2 separate regions of the Homo sapiens genome follow, and region 2 is linked to region 1. Evidence: promoter capture Hi-C in human tissues and cell types (Jung and others, 2019). All regions are on one chromosome and are shown on one strand. The core of a region is centred on a gene start or on the middle of the fragment in contact, and the rest is flanking DNA. Distances in the headings are between cores, read along the strand shown. Region 1 holds the start of PAX1 (paired box 1). Region 2 overlaps LINC01726 (long intergenic non-protein coding RNA 1726).

Evidence for each region. The method cuts DNA at HindIII sites, captures the fragments that hold promoters and counts their contacts. A contact is called where the count stands out against the background at its distance.
Region 2: a fragment that was not itself captured here is called in contact with the fragment with the promoter of PAX1 in region 1 in 2 of the 25 tissues and cell types used here (H1 embryonic stem cells and thymus).

The regions. Positions count from the first base shown.
Region 1 is chr20:21,701,946-21,709,580 of GRCh38, reverse strand. It overlaps PAX1 (paired box 1), which reads right to left and starts at 3,917. Exons shown (of 5, transcript NM_001257096.2): 1 at 3,583-3,917; 2 at 2,514-3,143; 3 at 881-1,023; 4 at 137-359. The coding sequence starts at 3,868. It overlaps LINC01726 (long intergenic non-protein coding RNA 1726), which reads left to right and starts at 5,996. Exons shown (of 5, transcript NR_109878.1): 1 at 5,996-6,259. RefSeq lists an enhancer at 6,074-6,678. The HindIII fragment of the contact is 9,805 bases long and covers 1,787-7,635 here.
Region 2 is chr20:21,635,044-21,641,787 of GRCh38, reverse strand. All of the region lies in intron 1 of LINC01726 (long intergenic non-protein coding RNA 1726), which reads left to right. Among named protein-coding and RNA genes, the nearest start is that of LINC01726, 65 kb to the left of the region's middle. The HindIII fragment of the contact is 8,238 bases long and covers 1-6,534 here.

The sequences.
Region 1 (7,635 bases), core at 2,668-5,167:
TAACCCAGAAGAAGGGTTCATGCCCAGGACCCACCTCTTCCCCACCCGCTCTCCCTTTTCCCAGGCTCACACCCGCTCCCCAGTACCCTTCCTAACCCTTCCAGCATCCACCCGCCCCACTCCCTGCGCTCCTCACCTTCTCGGCTGGGATGCTTGAAGGTCATTGCTGCCGCGAGTTCCCCGCCATGCACAGCTACGCCGGCCCCGGGGGGCGCCAGAGGAGGACCTTGCGCAGGCGGCCACGGCGGGCCCGGGGCGAGGTAGCCGCCGCCCGGGGCGCTGTACACGCCGTGCTGGTTGGAGGCCGGGTAGGCGCAGGCGGGGAGAAAGCCGCCCACGGCAGAGAGGGTGGAGGCCGACTGTGGGGATAGAGAGGGACCGTCAGCAGCAGAAAATCCTGCCTTCTCTAGCCCACGCCATCACTGAGACGGGGGTTTTCGTCCATTATCGCTCCCCCACGTCCTGTGCCCATCCATTATCCCCATGCGAGGCCTGGCCTCTAAATTTCCTAGTCAGGACTCTTTGGCAAAGTGATTTCTAAGAATTCACTCAAACTGTTACAAATAACGATGTGAAGGGGTCATGGTATTCATATCGGGATTTAGAGAAAGAAGGCCCTTGACTGTGGATTCGTCATCTGGAGTTCCAGCTTTTTTTAGCTAAGCTATCTTGGCAAAGGCAAGTCAACCCCTCTAAAGTCAGACTCTCCCAAACTAGTACGCTTGAGGAAAGGACAGAAAGGACGCTTGCTAGCCGGCTGCCAGATACAACCATCTCTCTGCCTGGAAATTTTTTCTTTTCTTTCTCTCTCTTTTTCCCCACTTGCCCAAACCTTCTGCTTCCCTACTTAAGGTCACGGCCTCACGTGCCTCCTGGTTACCTGAGTGTATTTAATGTCTGCCTCTAAGGCAGGTTTCTCTAGCCCATTCACTGCGGGGGTGGCGGGGAAGGCCGTGCGGTTCACGCCGGCCCAGTCTTCCATCTTGGGAGAGTAAGCGGTGCCTTCGCTCCCAGCCAGGGCCCCTGCAGGAGAGAGAGGACGGATTAAAAGGTGCCTCCGAATCTGCCCTGGGCACACGTGTGGCCAACCACCCAATTTGTATCTGAAGACACGGCCAGGGGTCCCACAAAATTTGTAGGTGGCCTGACACTCCACCAGGAGGCGGCAGGGACTGGAATGTTCACCACTCCGGGTGGGGCGGAGGAAAGGCAGCCAGGCCTGCTGCCCGGTCCTCCTAGCCTTCAACCGGTTTCCCACGAACGGGAGGCTGCTGCTGAGTCAAAGCCTGGGCAGACTCGGCCAAAGCGGCCGCTCCATTGTCCAGACACGGCTCCCAGAAACTTCCGAGTTCAAAGCTACAGCAACCTCATGAAAATTGTATTGATTTCTCAACATCTGCACAAGCCTCTGGAGGGCAGGGAGACGATTCTACGAGAACTGCCTCTGGAAACGCCCAGGGTTTCCCAAAAGAAGCGTCAACATTGTTGTCCCCACGGGTCAGATAGAAGCACACAGCTGCTCCCCGGGCCCTTGTGTGTGCCAGGAACCAAGGGAAACCTCCAGATCTGCGTGCAGGCTTGGTGGGGTCACCTCCAGACCCCTGCCATTCCATGGGAAGCTTTAGCCTTAGGCTGGGTTAGAGCCACCAGGAGACACAAAGCCAGAGCAGGGCCACAGAGGCGCTGCTGCTGCTGGAGCTGAGCACTCACAGTTTCTTTCCAGCCACCACTCTTTCCTCCTAGGCTATGGTGAATTTTGCTTCTTGCCCTCCTCCTGAGTCTGATCACCTAAGAGTGTGCCATCCCCTGGCCAGCTGCTGGCAGCTGGGGAGAGCGCAAAGAAATCCAGACCCGATTCTGGCTGGTTTCTTTCCCAGCCAGGCATCAAAGTTGTTCCAAACCTCCCGCCTTCCCCATCTTCCTCGTCACCCACTTGACCTATAGTGTGTTAAGCTTTAGTTGCAGATAAATGACAAATCCTTGTGAAGGTGGCTGCAGCCCCACCAGCCATCACCGCAAACTCCAGGACCTGCAAGGCCACAGGACCTTAGAGATGTAGGCCACTCAATCGACCACAAGATCCCTTTTCCTTTAACTCAGAAGAGCCACTGGGCCTGGGAGTGGGGGACAGAACCCTTGGGAAATCGTGAAGGATTCTGAGAGCTAAAGAAAGGGTCTCAAAATTGAGCGGGTTTTTTTCCCCCTTAGATTTGGCAACAGGGGCTTGCATACTTTTTGCAAGAATGAAAAAGCACAATTTCAGGCCTCCAAATTTGTGGTCGGCGATTGCTCTTCTATTTGGGAAATATTTTCCATATTTGTCATAAAAAGTTCAAGATGTCCGAGGTCTCTTACAAAAGGCCCAGGACCCCCAGCCTCCCTGGCCAGTGTGGAGCCCTCCCCTGAGCCAGAACCGGTCCCGGGAGGAGAGCGAGTGTGAGTCCTCTCCTGCAAGCCTGCCCGCCCCAGGTTCTGCCCCTTAATAGAAGGCTACGGAGGCCGCCACAACTGACCTGTTTGCTCCATAAACGTCCGGATGCCCAGGATGTTGCTGACCGAGTGTGCCGAGGGCCATGAGCGCGGGATGCTGACGTGGCCCGCCGTGCCCGGGACCCCGGGGTGGCTGCCCATCTTGGCGCCCGTGGGCGACACGGGACTGGGGTAGGGGTACTGGTAGATGTGGTTGTAGGGCAGCGTAGGCTGCGACGGCGGCTGCTTACTTGCCTCGTACGGTCCGGGCTGCGCCAGGCTGCCGATCTTGTTGCGCAGGATGCGGCTGATGGAGCTCACCGAAGGCACATTGTACTTGTCACAGACGCCGTCGGCCAGCAGCCGGTCGCGGATCTCCCAGGCAAAGATGCCAGGGTCTCCTTGCTTGTAGTCCCGGATGTGCTTGACCACGTTGGGAGTGGTGACGCGGGGCTTGCTCCCCCCGATGGCCCCGGGCAGAATGGAGCCGGTCTCGTTGTAGCGCGCCAGGATCTTGCTCACGCAGCCGTGGGATACGCGGAGCTGCCGACTGATGTCACAGGGTCGGATGCCCAGCTGCGCCAGCTCCACAATGCGCAAGCGGATGGCGTTGGGCAGGGGGCGGCCGTTGACGAACACACCGCCCAGCTGGTTCACCTCGCCATACGTCTGCTCTGCGGATGCGCCAGACAAGAGTGAGCCGGAGGGGGAGAAAACACCCGGCGGGTTAGCCAAGGGTCCCCACGCGGAGCGAGGGACTGCACCCAGGCGCACTTCCAAAGGTGACCTGTGGGTCCCCAGACAGCTCGGAGTCCAAGGGCAAACCGCCTGGGTCTGGCTTGGAGTGGGCAAGGGCGCAGAGGAGCCGCGGAGTGGAGCGCGGCGCATTGTAGCCCTCCGTGCCCTTTCGCGACTTTTAGCGCGTCTACTTGGAACACTCCCTTCCCAGACTTGCTCAACTGCCCCCTGAAGGCTGGGGATCAGAGGAGAATGCAGCTTCTCCAGGACCCAGGACTGGGTCGCCCAGGGAAAGCGGACGAGAGGGAAGGGAGGCAGGCGGACCCGACCCACCTCATCAGCCCTCCCGAGCCCTGCCTGTCGCCCGCCCCTTACCCATAGCGAGCGGGCCGGCCAGCTGCCTGGCGCCGGGGTGGCCGGGGTGGCCGGGGCTGGGCCCGGCGCAGTCCGGGAGAGCTTGGGCGCCGCCGCCGCCGCGTGAGAGGCATAGAGGGAGGGCGCCCGAGAGCCGAGAGCCGCGGCGGCCCAGCCGCGGGCTGGAGACGCGCTGTGCGCGGCAGCGGAGCGCGCTGCCGCCCGCTCCAGGGCCTGCCGCCGCCGCTGCTGCCCCCTCCCAGGACACTCTCCACGCCCGCGACCCCAGGCCCAGGGTGAACTTCATCCGATTGGGAGAAATTCGTCTGACCGGGAGGCTGCAGCGTGCGGGAATCAATTTGACGTGTCCTCCACGTCAATCTCGGCAGTCACGCCGGAGACGCGCGAGTTGGCAGCTCATTGGTTCCCGTCACTGCGCCCCAGCGCCCCCCTCCCCGCCCTGAAACTCTACCCCCTCCTTCTATCCTCCCCCCTCGGCCCTCTTCCACCACCCCCCCGGAACCCACCCCTCTACACACACACACACACACACACACACACACACACACACACACACGTCCCAACCCCAGCTGGGCCTGGGACCTTCCACTGCTCTGAGCCCCTTTCAGCCCCCTTCCTCCTCTAGCTTTGGGAATGAGGGGGAAGTCATCTCAAATTGATTAGTGTGTTAGTACTAGTACTCGTTTTCGTTTTGGTTTTAGTTTTATTTCCGCCACCATTAATAATAAGATAGAGAATAAAAGTTTATCGTGGAAAGGTGTTTCGGGTGTGGCTCTCTCTACCTCCCCACTCCCGGGGCAGCGGCCGGGGAAGGGTGGGATCAGTACCCCAGCTGGCTGGGAGTGTCAAGGTGAGCGTCCAGCGCGGTGCAGGGCTCCTGTCAGGAAGACACAAGGCGGAACTTGTGTCCCATTCCTGGCCAGGTCCTCAATCCTTCTCTCAGGAAATCTTCACGTTTAATAGCCAACCACTCTTGGAATAGTGGGGGTGATTTCGGTGATGCGAGAGGGGCACGGTCCAAATCCTGTCTCCTACAGCCAGGCCCAGCCACCAGAACTCATCCCTCTCCAAGCAGTGACAGAAGGGGCAGGAGGCAAAAGGATCCCGATCTGCTGCTAAGGGGCGCATAGATCCGGCGCCCTCCTGTCCCCAAGCGCGACCGGCGGGAGGCCAAATGCATAGCTCCAGCTCTAGGTCTGAAGGACAAGTTCCTTTCTCCCTGGCGGTGGAATCTCGCACCACTCTATCCCAGGTGGCCTGGCCTCGTCTTTCTCCCAGCACCTGCAGCTTCAGGAAGTCTCTGTTAAACCACAGAATGGTCATTTCTCCTTCATTTAAATGAGGTTTTGCGCAGCCCTGAATTATTCACCCCTGAGATTGAACATCAACAATTTCTCTGTTTCTACCCTGCACCAAAGCAGTTCTGAACTCCCCAACCTGTGCAGCTAACTGTGTCCGGGAGCCATGCGGTGAGGGCCAAGAGGAGGAAACTCGTGGTTTTGAACATGAACTGATTTGAGGGGGTCAGGATCTGAGAGCTCTGAGGTTGAGCCCAGTAAGCACCAAAGGCATTGGGCTGAATGTGCTAGACCAGGAAGAGGGCATAGGGGAGAGAGTAGGAACAGCCGAGGTTTCTGAGACTCCCAGCGCTCCCCTGGAGGAGAGAACCCTCTTCCCCTCCCTCCTGCCCACCCCAAGGGTCTAGCTCTCCTTAGCCACCCAGAGTTGAGTATGGCGCCAGCGCGGTGACAGTGGCTGAGGAGCACATGGACCCTATCAGCCCACCCTGGGGAGCCATGGCTGCGGAGGCCCCGACCCCTTTGCCTCCGCTGTAGGGCCAGAGAGCATCCCTGGCTCCTAATCCACCTGTCTAAATGTATCTGTCAGGAGTGACTGGCTCATAATTCCTGGACTCTCTAGAGAGAGCACGCGGTGGGGCCACAGACAAGAATTACTCCTGGAAAAAGAAAAATCAGGTTTAAAAGAAGTGAACTCTTCCTCTCCGGCGGCATGAACACAGTACAGTCTCTGGCTCTGGGAGGTCCTGGAGACCTGGAGGAGGTTTGAGGGTCAGTGCACTGGCAGGAGGGTGCGAGAGTGGGAGCAGGGGAAGCTATGTAGAAGATTAGGCCTGTCCATGACAGCGTAGGTTTGGAGTAAGGAACAGGGAAAGGGAATGGTTTGGATTAAAGTGGGCACGCCTAAGCCAGGAGTTCCGCGAAGGCAGCGAAGAGAGGACTAAGCACGCACAGTATGCTCGGGGCTCCGGGGGTGCGGGGAGTGGGGACGCACCCTGCCCAGTGCTCTCCATTGCGGAATCTGCTAGCTTCGTCGGGCGCGAGATACCAAGAAAGGTTGATTTCCAGACCTTGGAGTCTCTGAGATAAAGGAACGCCACATCCCTGCCTCAGTCCAGTGGATACTCGTGATCCGGAAAAGCAGCTAAAGCCGCTTCTTCCCCCCAGTAGGTGAGGAGTCAACAGGCACACTCTAAAGACGAGGAAATAAAGCCGGTCGTGACACCGTGAGAGCTGGTTCGCCCAACTACCCTTTCAGGGGAACGTCCACCCCACCTCTGCTGCCGAGCTTGGAAAAGTGGCAAGGAGTCGCAGTCCAGGACAAAACTCCGCCCCCGTCCCCGTGAAGGCCGCCCGTGGCTGGGGGCTACTGTAGAGGGGTGAGTCTGGGGATTGCGCACGATGAGAGGGGGTGGTTCTCCCCGGTAGCAGAGTCCGCGAGCCTTCGTCTCAATCCTGGCCCCTTTCCCGCAGCCAGCTGTGCGCGATCGGGAGCACACAGCCCTCGCTGCAGCCTTCTGCACGGTCGGGCATAGGGAAAACCTTACAGTTTGTCGCCCCCTGTCGTCCCCCGGCCGGGTATCGCGGGTTCCCGAGCTGCAGGCTAGGCTTGGTGAGAGATGGCCCTAAGATGAGATTGCAGAAGGAAAAGAAACGTCTCTCCCACCTCCCAAGGAGGCAGCTTAGCCCTCTCCATGGCCCGGGGACAGCTACTAGTCAGCGCTGAGCGCACAGAGGTAAAGAGCTCGCGGATTCTGCGTTTTTGCTTGGCTGGGTTTGGCACCGTATTTCAGCGTCCTCTGGAAGCGGAGTGCAACAAAGTTCCGCTTCCAGGGTCGCGGGAGCCTGTTAGCTGAGGGCGCACTCAGAAACCTGGGGCAAAACTCCTCCGCCTGGGGCTGGACTCCTAGCAGGGCAGAGGATGGATCTGAGGGTACCCCAGAGGCTTCGGGCCCTCGCCCAGTTTTCCCAAGGCAGGAAAAGAAAGAGAGGTAAACTCTTTGCCGAAAGCGGGAGTCAAAAAGGAGGCGCGAAGGGGTGCCTGCCCTTCTGGGGACTGGGGGTTGGCGGCAAGGGGGGTTACTGATGAGAACTCCCTTGCTGCACGCCACCTGAGCCGTGAACTCAACACCCGAAACTTCACACTGCTAAACACCCAGGGGTTCGGTGACAGGGCCGCTCTTGGAGCTACAGTCGCCCCCACTTCATGTCTCATACTTGGCTTTGATTTTTGGTGGGTTTGTTTCCGGGAGTTAAAACAAGCAATAGGCCGGGATGTTCCCCGGGCCCATGCATTTCAAGGACTCCAGGAGAAACCTTAAGAAAAAGCTGATTTAAGTCCAACTTGGGCATACAGGTGCGCATTTCGGTTCTTGCGGGAAGTAACAGAGGGCAGAAAACACAGGTGGCACTCCCCGAGAGCCCTGGCCAGACTTGGGCCTAACAACGAAAGCTGGTACCCACCAGCAGCAGCCCGCAGGGGCCGCAGGGCCGGGATCCCGGGTCTTCCTCACGACGTCCTAGCCTCAGGCCTTAATAGGCCCGCTTTCGCTCCTGCATGAGTCCTGGCTCTGCTCAGGACCTGCGCTTTTACTGTGTTTTTAAGAGTTTTAAGAGCACTGAGCCATGAGTCCTGTGGTTCAAAATCAAAGTCAAATTGAGTCTCTTAATTTTCTTCTTAAATTTACGTTTGAAGGGGAAAATAAAAAAGCAGCTCGGGCTAAAAACGCACTTTATGCATCAGGTTATAGTACCA
Region 2 (6,744 bases), core at 1,166-3,665, 66 kb after region 1:
GCAGTAATAGGGGTCAGCGGAGCTACAGGAGGCCCCCTAGAGACTGTGATAGACTCTTTATGATGCCACCTTTTCTAATAAAGACTTGAGTCTAGAAAGTTCTGAAGGCCTGAAAGATATTTATTCGACAACAGGAATGTGGGATAAAAGGTGTCAGGCAAGTCAAGCTTTGTGAGTGCCTCTGAATCTGGTTTGCTGATGACATTCATATTATCCACACTGACGCGGCTGCCCCCGCCGATGGGCCATAACCTGGTGCACAGGAATCCGCACACTAATGTTTCTCACCATCAGCTCCCAGGTACCCCCCTAGTCAACAGCTGCTTTGGCCCGAGACTTCTCATCGGCTGAACCAATCAAAGTCCATCACAGCAGCTCCTCCGATGCTTCCTCCACCTCCACAGTATTTTTTCCCCACCAAGTTGGGTTCCTTCTTCCAAATTCTTCCCAAACTCCACATCTTCACCAAACCTTCCTTGAGCAGCCCAGCCTCATGCCAATCCCTGCCTCATCATCCTTCCATCATGTCTTTCTCATCCTCACAGCCTCCACATATCCCCACAGTCAGTGCTCATGGGATGTTTGTGCCTGTGTTTGCCCATCCAGCTGTTTGCATCTTTGTGCCTCCCCGCACCTTTCTGGGCTTGGACCACATGCCCAGGGTATGGTCAGGCCCTACCAGGGAAAGGAGCACAACTGGCATGTGTTCACAGCCCCCAAAGGCTGCACACCATTTGGCAGGTGCTCAGATGCAGCCTGGCTACTCCCAATGTGCCTGGCTACTCCCATCTGCCAAGAAGGTAGATAGATATTCTAGAGAGATATTCAGAGAGATGAAAAATCCTTGGAAGATGGAGTCTGTGCTAAGCCAGGCTGTTTTGAGAAGCTAGTGTCTGCATCACATACATTCAGACTTAAAGTTCTTCTCTAGAGGTATTCTTTGACTTAAACCACATAGCTGCTTCTATCGCCTTGACAGCTAGGCTGAACCACCCACCTTAGCAGGTGCTTCTTTGCTGGCCCGTTGCTACCACCTATTGGCTCCTGGAGGAAACAAGAATGAGCCACATGTCTGAGGATAAGTGCTTCCGAGTTCCCAAAAGGCTTCCAGGGGCTGGAAAATGATCACATGAGAAGCCACCATGTAGGGAATCGATGCCTGCAGAATGCTTTTGCCATCTTGGCTCTGTCTTCCTGCCCCTCATCAAAGTTGGCTCAGGGAGTTCAAATATAGAACCAACATTTGTTTTAAAAACATAAAGGCAGGCAAGCCCTACCCAATAAAAATTGACATAGAGAGATGAACTACCCCACATTCAGAGAAAAACTACTATTCCAGGCCCACCTTCCCAAGCACCTTGCTTCTGCAGAATTTTTATCCATGAGGCATCTGTTAGGTTACCTGCCTTTGCCAGGGCCTAAAATCCCACCCCTTAGCAAAGCAAAAACGTCATCTAGATCTTTCTAAGATGAAAGACAATCCTGTCTCTTCACATAGTATCAGCATAAGGATGGCCACTGAAGCAGAATCTCACATGATAAACTAAGCTATCCTTGGAAAACACAAGTATTTCCCAAAGTAGAATGTAGACTGTGTCACAACCCACCAAAAGTGGAAATTTTTGCATTCAAATTTCCTGGCTATGAGCTCAGACCACCGCCACTACCAAACAAAATCTGGCTAGAATGGACTGCAGGGAGTGAAGTTGATGCTGATTTTCTCAGGAAGCCAGGGTTTAAAGTTGGGCTTTTCCTGGTTCCAATTCGTTGTCTGCCATTGCTCCAGGAAGAATATAGCTCAATTGTTCCTAATTTTGAAAAACATCAGAGCTGACCATTTGCCACAAGAAGTTAATTTTCAGTGAAAAGAGAGGCAAACTCTTTTTTTTTTTTTTTTTTTTTTTTTTTTTTTGATACGGAGTCTCGCTCTGTCGCCCAGGCTGGAGTGCAGTGGTGGGATCTTGGCTCACTGCAAGCTCCGGAGAGGCAAACTCTTACAGTTATTTATTGCTGCATAAAAAACCACCTCAAAATGTAGCAGCTTGAAACAATTTATTATTAAACTAAAACAAGCTATTAAAGCTACACCATGTCAGCTGTGGCCACACCTGTGTTCATCTGGGTGGGACTAGAGCCTCCCAGACAGCTTCTGTCAGGTATCTGCACCTGCATGTGCTGCTGGGTGCCCTCTTCCTCCACATATTGACTCATCCCCCAGGGCCTCTTCCCATGGCATCACTCTACCAGGATAGCATGGATGTTCTTATAGCACAGCAGCCCACTTCCAGGAGGGCCAACACAGAAACTCCCAGATCTCTCAACCACTAGGCCTGGAATTGACACAGTGTCACTTCTGCTTCATTCTACTGATCAAAGCAAGTCACAGGCTCGCCCAGATTCAGGGAGCAGGAAACAGATTCCACCTATCAACAGGAAGAATGATAAAAGCCTATGTGGAGAGGAGGACTGTAGGCACCATCTCTAAGACAAGCTAACACAGACCTTAACAGAAGAGAGAACAAGATAGGCCTCATTATTCCACTGTCCATATGGAGGATCAAAGTCTTTATCTGCACAATGGCATTAACAATGCTACTTGGAGCATTGTTCAGATTCAAGGAGATAATGACAGTTAATGCTGGGCACATGGCACATGCTTGTGGCTCTCCAAGTGTAGCCAATTCCCATGAAACGTTGGGCTCCACCAGGAGCCTGTGAAGACAAAACCTGAGAGGAGGTGCCATTTTGGAAGCATGCAGGGTTCAAGGCTGGCTCCAAACCACACCCTGCTGTGAGTTTGCCAGGGAATGTTCATGCTTTGGTTGACTTTTCTCACCTTCGTTTTCTTCTCCGACCCATCTAAAAAGGCTCCAAATTTATTTCTTTTGAAATCAAAGATTCAGAGGAGACTAGTTTCTCACTTGCAATAAGGATGCTACCATACCGAAGGGCACCTCCAGACCAGCACACAGCAGGCCAGTGAGGCCATGCACACAGGACGTGGAGCCTGCTGGCCCTCCGACAGGCAGCTCCACTTTTATCCATTTTAAGCATTAGGGTCATTCAATATAAAATCTGGTGTGTGGTTGGAACCCCTGGTTTATTACAAAGTGCTACCTTGGCTAGCTGAATGTTAGCAGACTGGAACACCAGATAGCCAAGTTTTGATGGGGACGAGAGAGATTTATACTTTAAGAGAAGTGGGCAAAGAGAAGATGCATGATTGAGGGAAGAGGGCATGCATAAAATGAGCATCTTGGGAGGCAGCATTCAAGAGACGAAGCAGAGTATGAGTATGTAACGGATGCATACAAAAGAGCCTTAACAAAGGAGGAAATCCTGCCTTCGCAGCAACATGAAGGAACCTGGAGGACACCACGCTAAGTGAAATAAGCCAGATACAGAAGGAAAATTACTGCAAGATACCACTTTCATGAGGAATCTAAAATAATTAAACTCAGAAGCAAAGAGTAGAGTGATGGTTGCCAGGATCTGAGGGGAGGGGAAAAGAGAAAGGTATTAGTCAAAGGGCACAAGGTTTTGGTTATAAAGATGAGTAAGTCCTAAAGAGTTACTGTACATCAGAGTGTCCATAGCCAGCAATACTGTATTGTGTACTTAAAAATTCGTTAAGAGGATAGATCTTGTGTTATGTGTTCTTATCACAAAAACAAATAAATAAAAAGGGGACAAGGACAATTTGGGAGGTGATAGATATGGTTATGGCCTTGATTGTGGTGATGGTTTCACCTTGCATACTTATCTCCACACATACCAAGTTGCATGCATTAAATATGTACAACCTTGTACCCATGAAAATCAAAAATAAAAACTTTTAATAACATATATATAGATTATTGTATGTTAATCATCCCTCAATAAAGTGTTGTTTGTTTGGGTTTTTTAAGAGAGAGATGAAGCAGAGTTGGACAGTGCTGTGACCTCTGAGCCAGTCTCTGCCAGGCCTGCCACATCTCCCACCGGGAACTGTCCCTGTGCTTATTCTTGGCTTCCGGAATCACTGCATCAGGGCATTCTCCCTGGAAGTGCTGGGGAGTTACCCCTAGTGACACACTCAGCCACAGACAGGCAGGAGTGGCGGTGAATACCGCAGCTTTCCGAGCCCGCCTTCTTATCTCTGGGGGTGGAGGAAGAATCCCCTAGTTCATCCCCTTGGTCCTCACCTCTGCTACTTGTCCTCTTGACTACCGGTTTTAACCCATCCTAGCCACTCTTTCCATAGAGAGGGAGACAAAAATGAATGGAATTATGCAATGCTCTTGTAACTGTAAAGGGCAGAAGCCAAACTTATATTAGCTCAAAGAAATAGGAGATATATTGCTCACTTAACTAAAAATTCCAGCAGTCTTCTAGCTTCAGGCACCAGGAGCTCAAATGATGCCATCTCCATCTCTCAGTTCTGCTTTCTTAGGGGGGTTGTATCCTTAGAGGGCTGAGAATGATGTCTGCAGTGCCAGGATTAGTGGCCTCAGTGCAAGGAGGACTATTTTTCCTTGACGGTTCTAGTATAAGTCTAGGATGGAGTTCTCACGAATCTGGCCTGATGATGGGCCAACCCTAAATCTATCATGGTGTAGAGCAGTAAGGATGCTCTGGTTGGCCAACACCAACTTGCGTATGCACTGCAGGATTTAGGCAGCATTGGTTCCACATAAAACACATAGAGGAAAGTGATTTTCTTTTTATTATTATTATTATACTTTAAGTTCTAGCGTACATGTACACAACGTGAAGGTTTGCTACACAAGTATACATGTGCCATGTTGGTTTGCTGCACCCATCAACTCATTATTTACATTAGATATATCTCATAATGCTATCCCTCCCCCCTCCCCCCACACCTGTGTGTGATGTTCCACTCCCTGTGTCCATGTGTTCTCATTGTTCAACTCCCGCTTATGAGTGAGAACATGCGGTGTTTGGTTTTCTGTCCTTGTGATATTTTGCTGAGAATGATGGTTTCCACCTTCATCCATGTCCCTGCAAAGGACATGAACTCTTCCTTTTTTATGGTGGCATAGTATTCCATGGTGTATATGTGCCACCTTTTATTTATCCAGTCTATTATTGATGGACATTTGGGTTAGTTCCAAGTCTTTGCTATTATGAATAGTGCCACAATAAACATACCTGTGCATGTGTCTTTATAGTAGCATGATTTATATTCCTTTGGGTATATACTTAGTAATGGGATTACTCGGTCAAATGGTATTTCTAGTTCTAGATCCTTGAGGAATCCACACTGTCTTCCACAATGGTTGAACTAATTTACTCTCCCACTAACACTGTAAAAGTGTTCCTATTTCTCTACATCCCTTCTAGCATTTGTTGTTTCCTAACTTTTTAATGATCGCCATTCTAACTGGCGTGAGATGGTACTTCATTGTGGTTTTGATTTGCATTTCTCTGATGACCAGTGATGATGAGCATCTTTTCATATGCCTGTTGGCTGCATAAATGTCTTCTTTTGAGAAGTGTCTGTTCATATCCTTTGTCCACATGTTGATGGGGTTGTTTCTTTCTTATAAATTTGTTTAAGTTCTTGTAGATTCTGGATGTTAGCCCTTTGTCAGATAGATAGATTGCAAAAATTTTCTCCCATTCTGTAGGCTGCCTATTCACTCTGATAATAGTTTCTTTTGCTGTGCAGAAACTCTTTAGTTTAATTAGATCCCATTTGTCTATTTTGGCTTTTGTTTCCATTGTTTTTGGTGTTTTAGTCATGAAGTCTTTGCCTATGCCTATGTCCTGAATGGTATTGCCTAGGTTTTCTTCTAGAGTTTTTATGGTTTTAGGTCTTACATTTAAGTCTTTAGTCTATCTTTAGTTAATTTTTGTATAAGGTGTAAGGAAGGGATCCAGTTTCAGCTTTCTACATATGGCTAGCCAATTTTCCCAACACCATTTATTAAATAGGGAATCCTTTCCCCATTGCTTGTTTTTGTCAGGTTTGTCAAAGATCAGATGGTTGTAGATGTGTGGTGTTATTTCTGAGGCCTCTCTTCTGTTCCATTGGTCTATATATCTGTTTTGGTACCAGTACCATGTTGTTTTGGTTATGGTAGCCTTGTAATATTGTAATATTACAATATTAATGTAATGTATGGTAGCCTTGTAATATTGTTTGAAGTCAGGTATCGTGATGCCTCCAGCTTTGTTCTGAGGCAGCTTAGGATTGTCTCGATTATGCAGGCTCTTTTTTGGTTCCATATGAAATTTAAAGTAGTTTTTTCCAATTCTGTGAAGAAAGTCAGTGGTAGCTTGATAGGGATACCATTGAATCTATAAATTACTTTGGGCAATATGGCCATTTTCACGATATTGATTCTTCCTATCCATGAGCATGGAATGTTCTTCCATTTGTTTGTGCCTTCTTTTATTTCATTGAGCAGTGGTTTGTAGTTCTCCTTGAAGATGTCCTTCACAACACTTGTAAGTTGGATTCCTAAGTATTTTGTTCTCTTTGTAGTAATTGTGAATGGGAGTTCACTCATGATTTGGCTCTCTGTTTGTGTGTTATTTGTGTATAGAAATGCTTGTGATATTTGCACATTGATTTTGTATCCTGGGACTTTGCTGAAGTTGCTTATCAGCTTAAGGAGATTTTGGGCTGAGACGATGGGATTTTCTAAATATACAGTCATGTCATCTGCAAACAGGGACAATTTGACTTCCTCTTTTCCTAATTGAATACCCTTTATTTCTTTCTCTTGCTGATTGCCC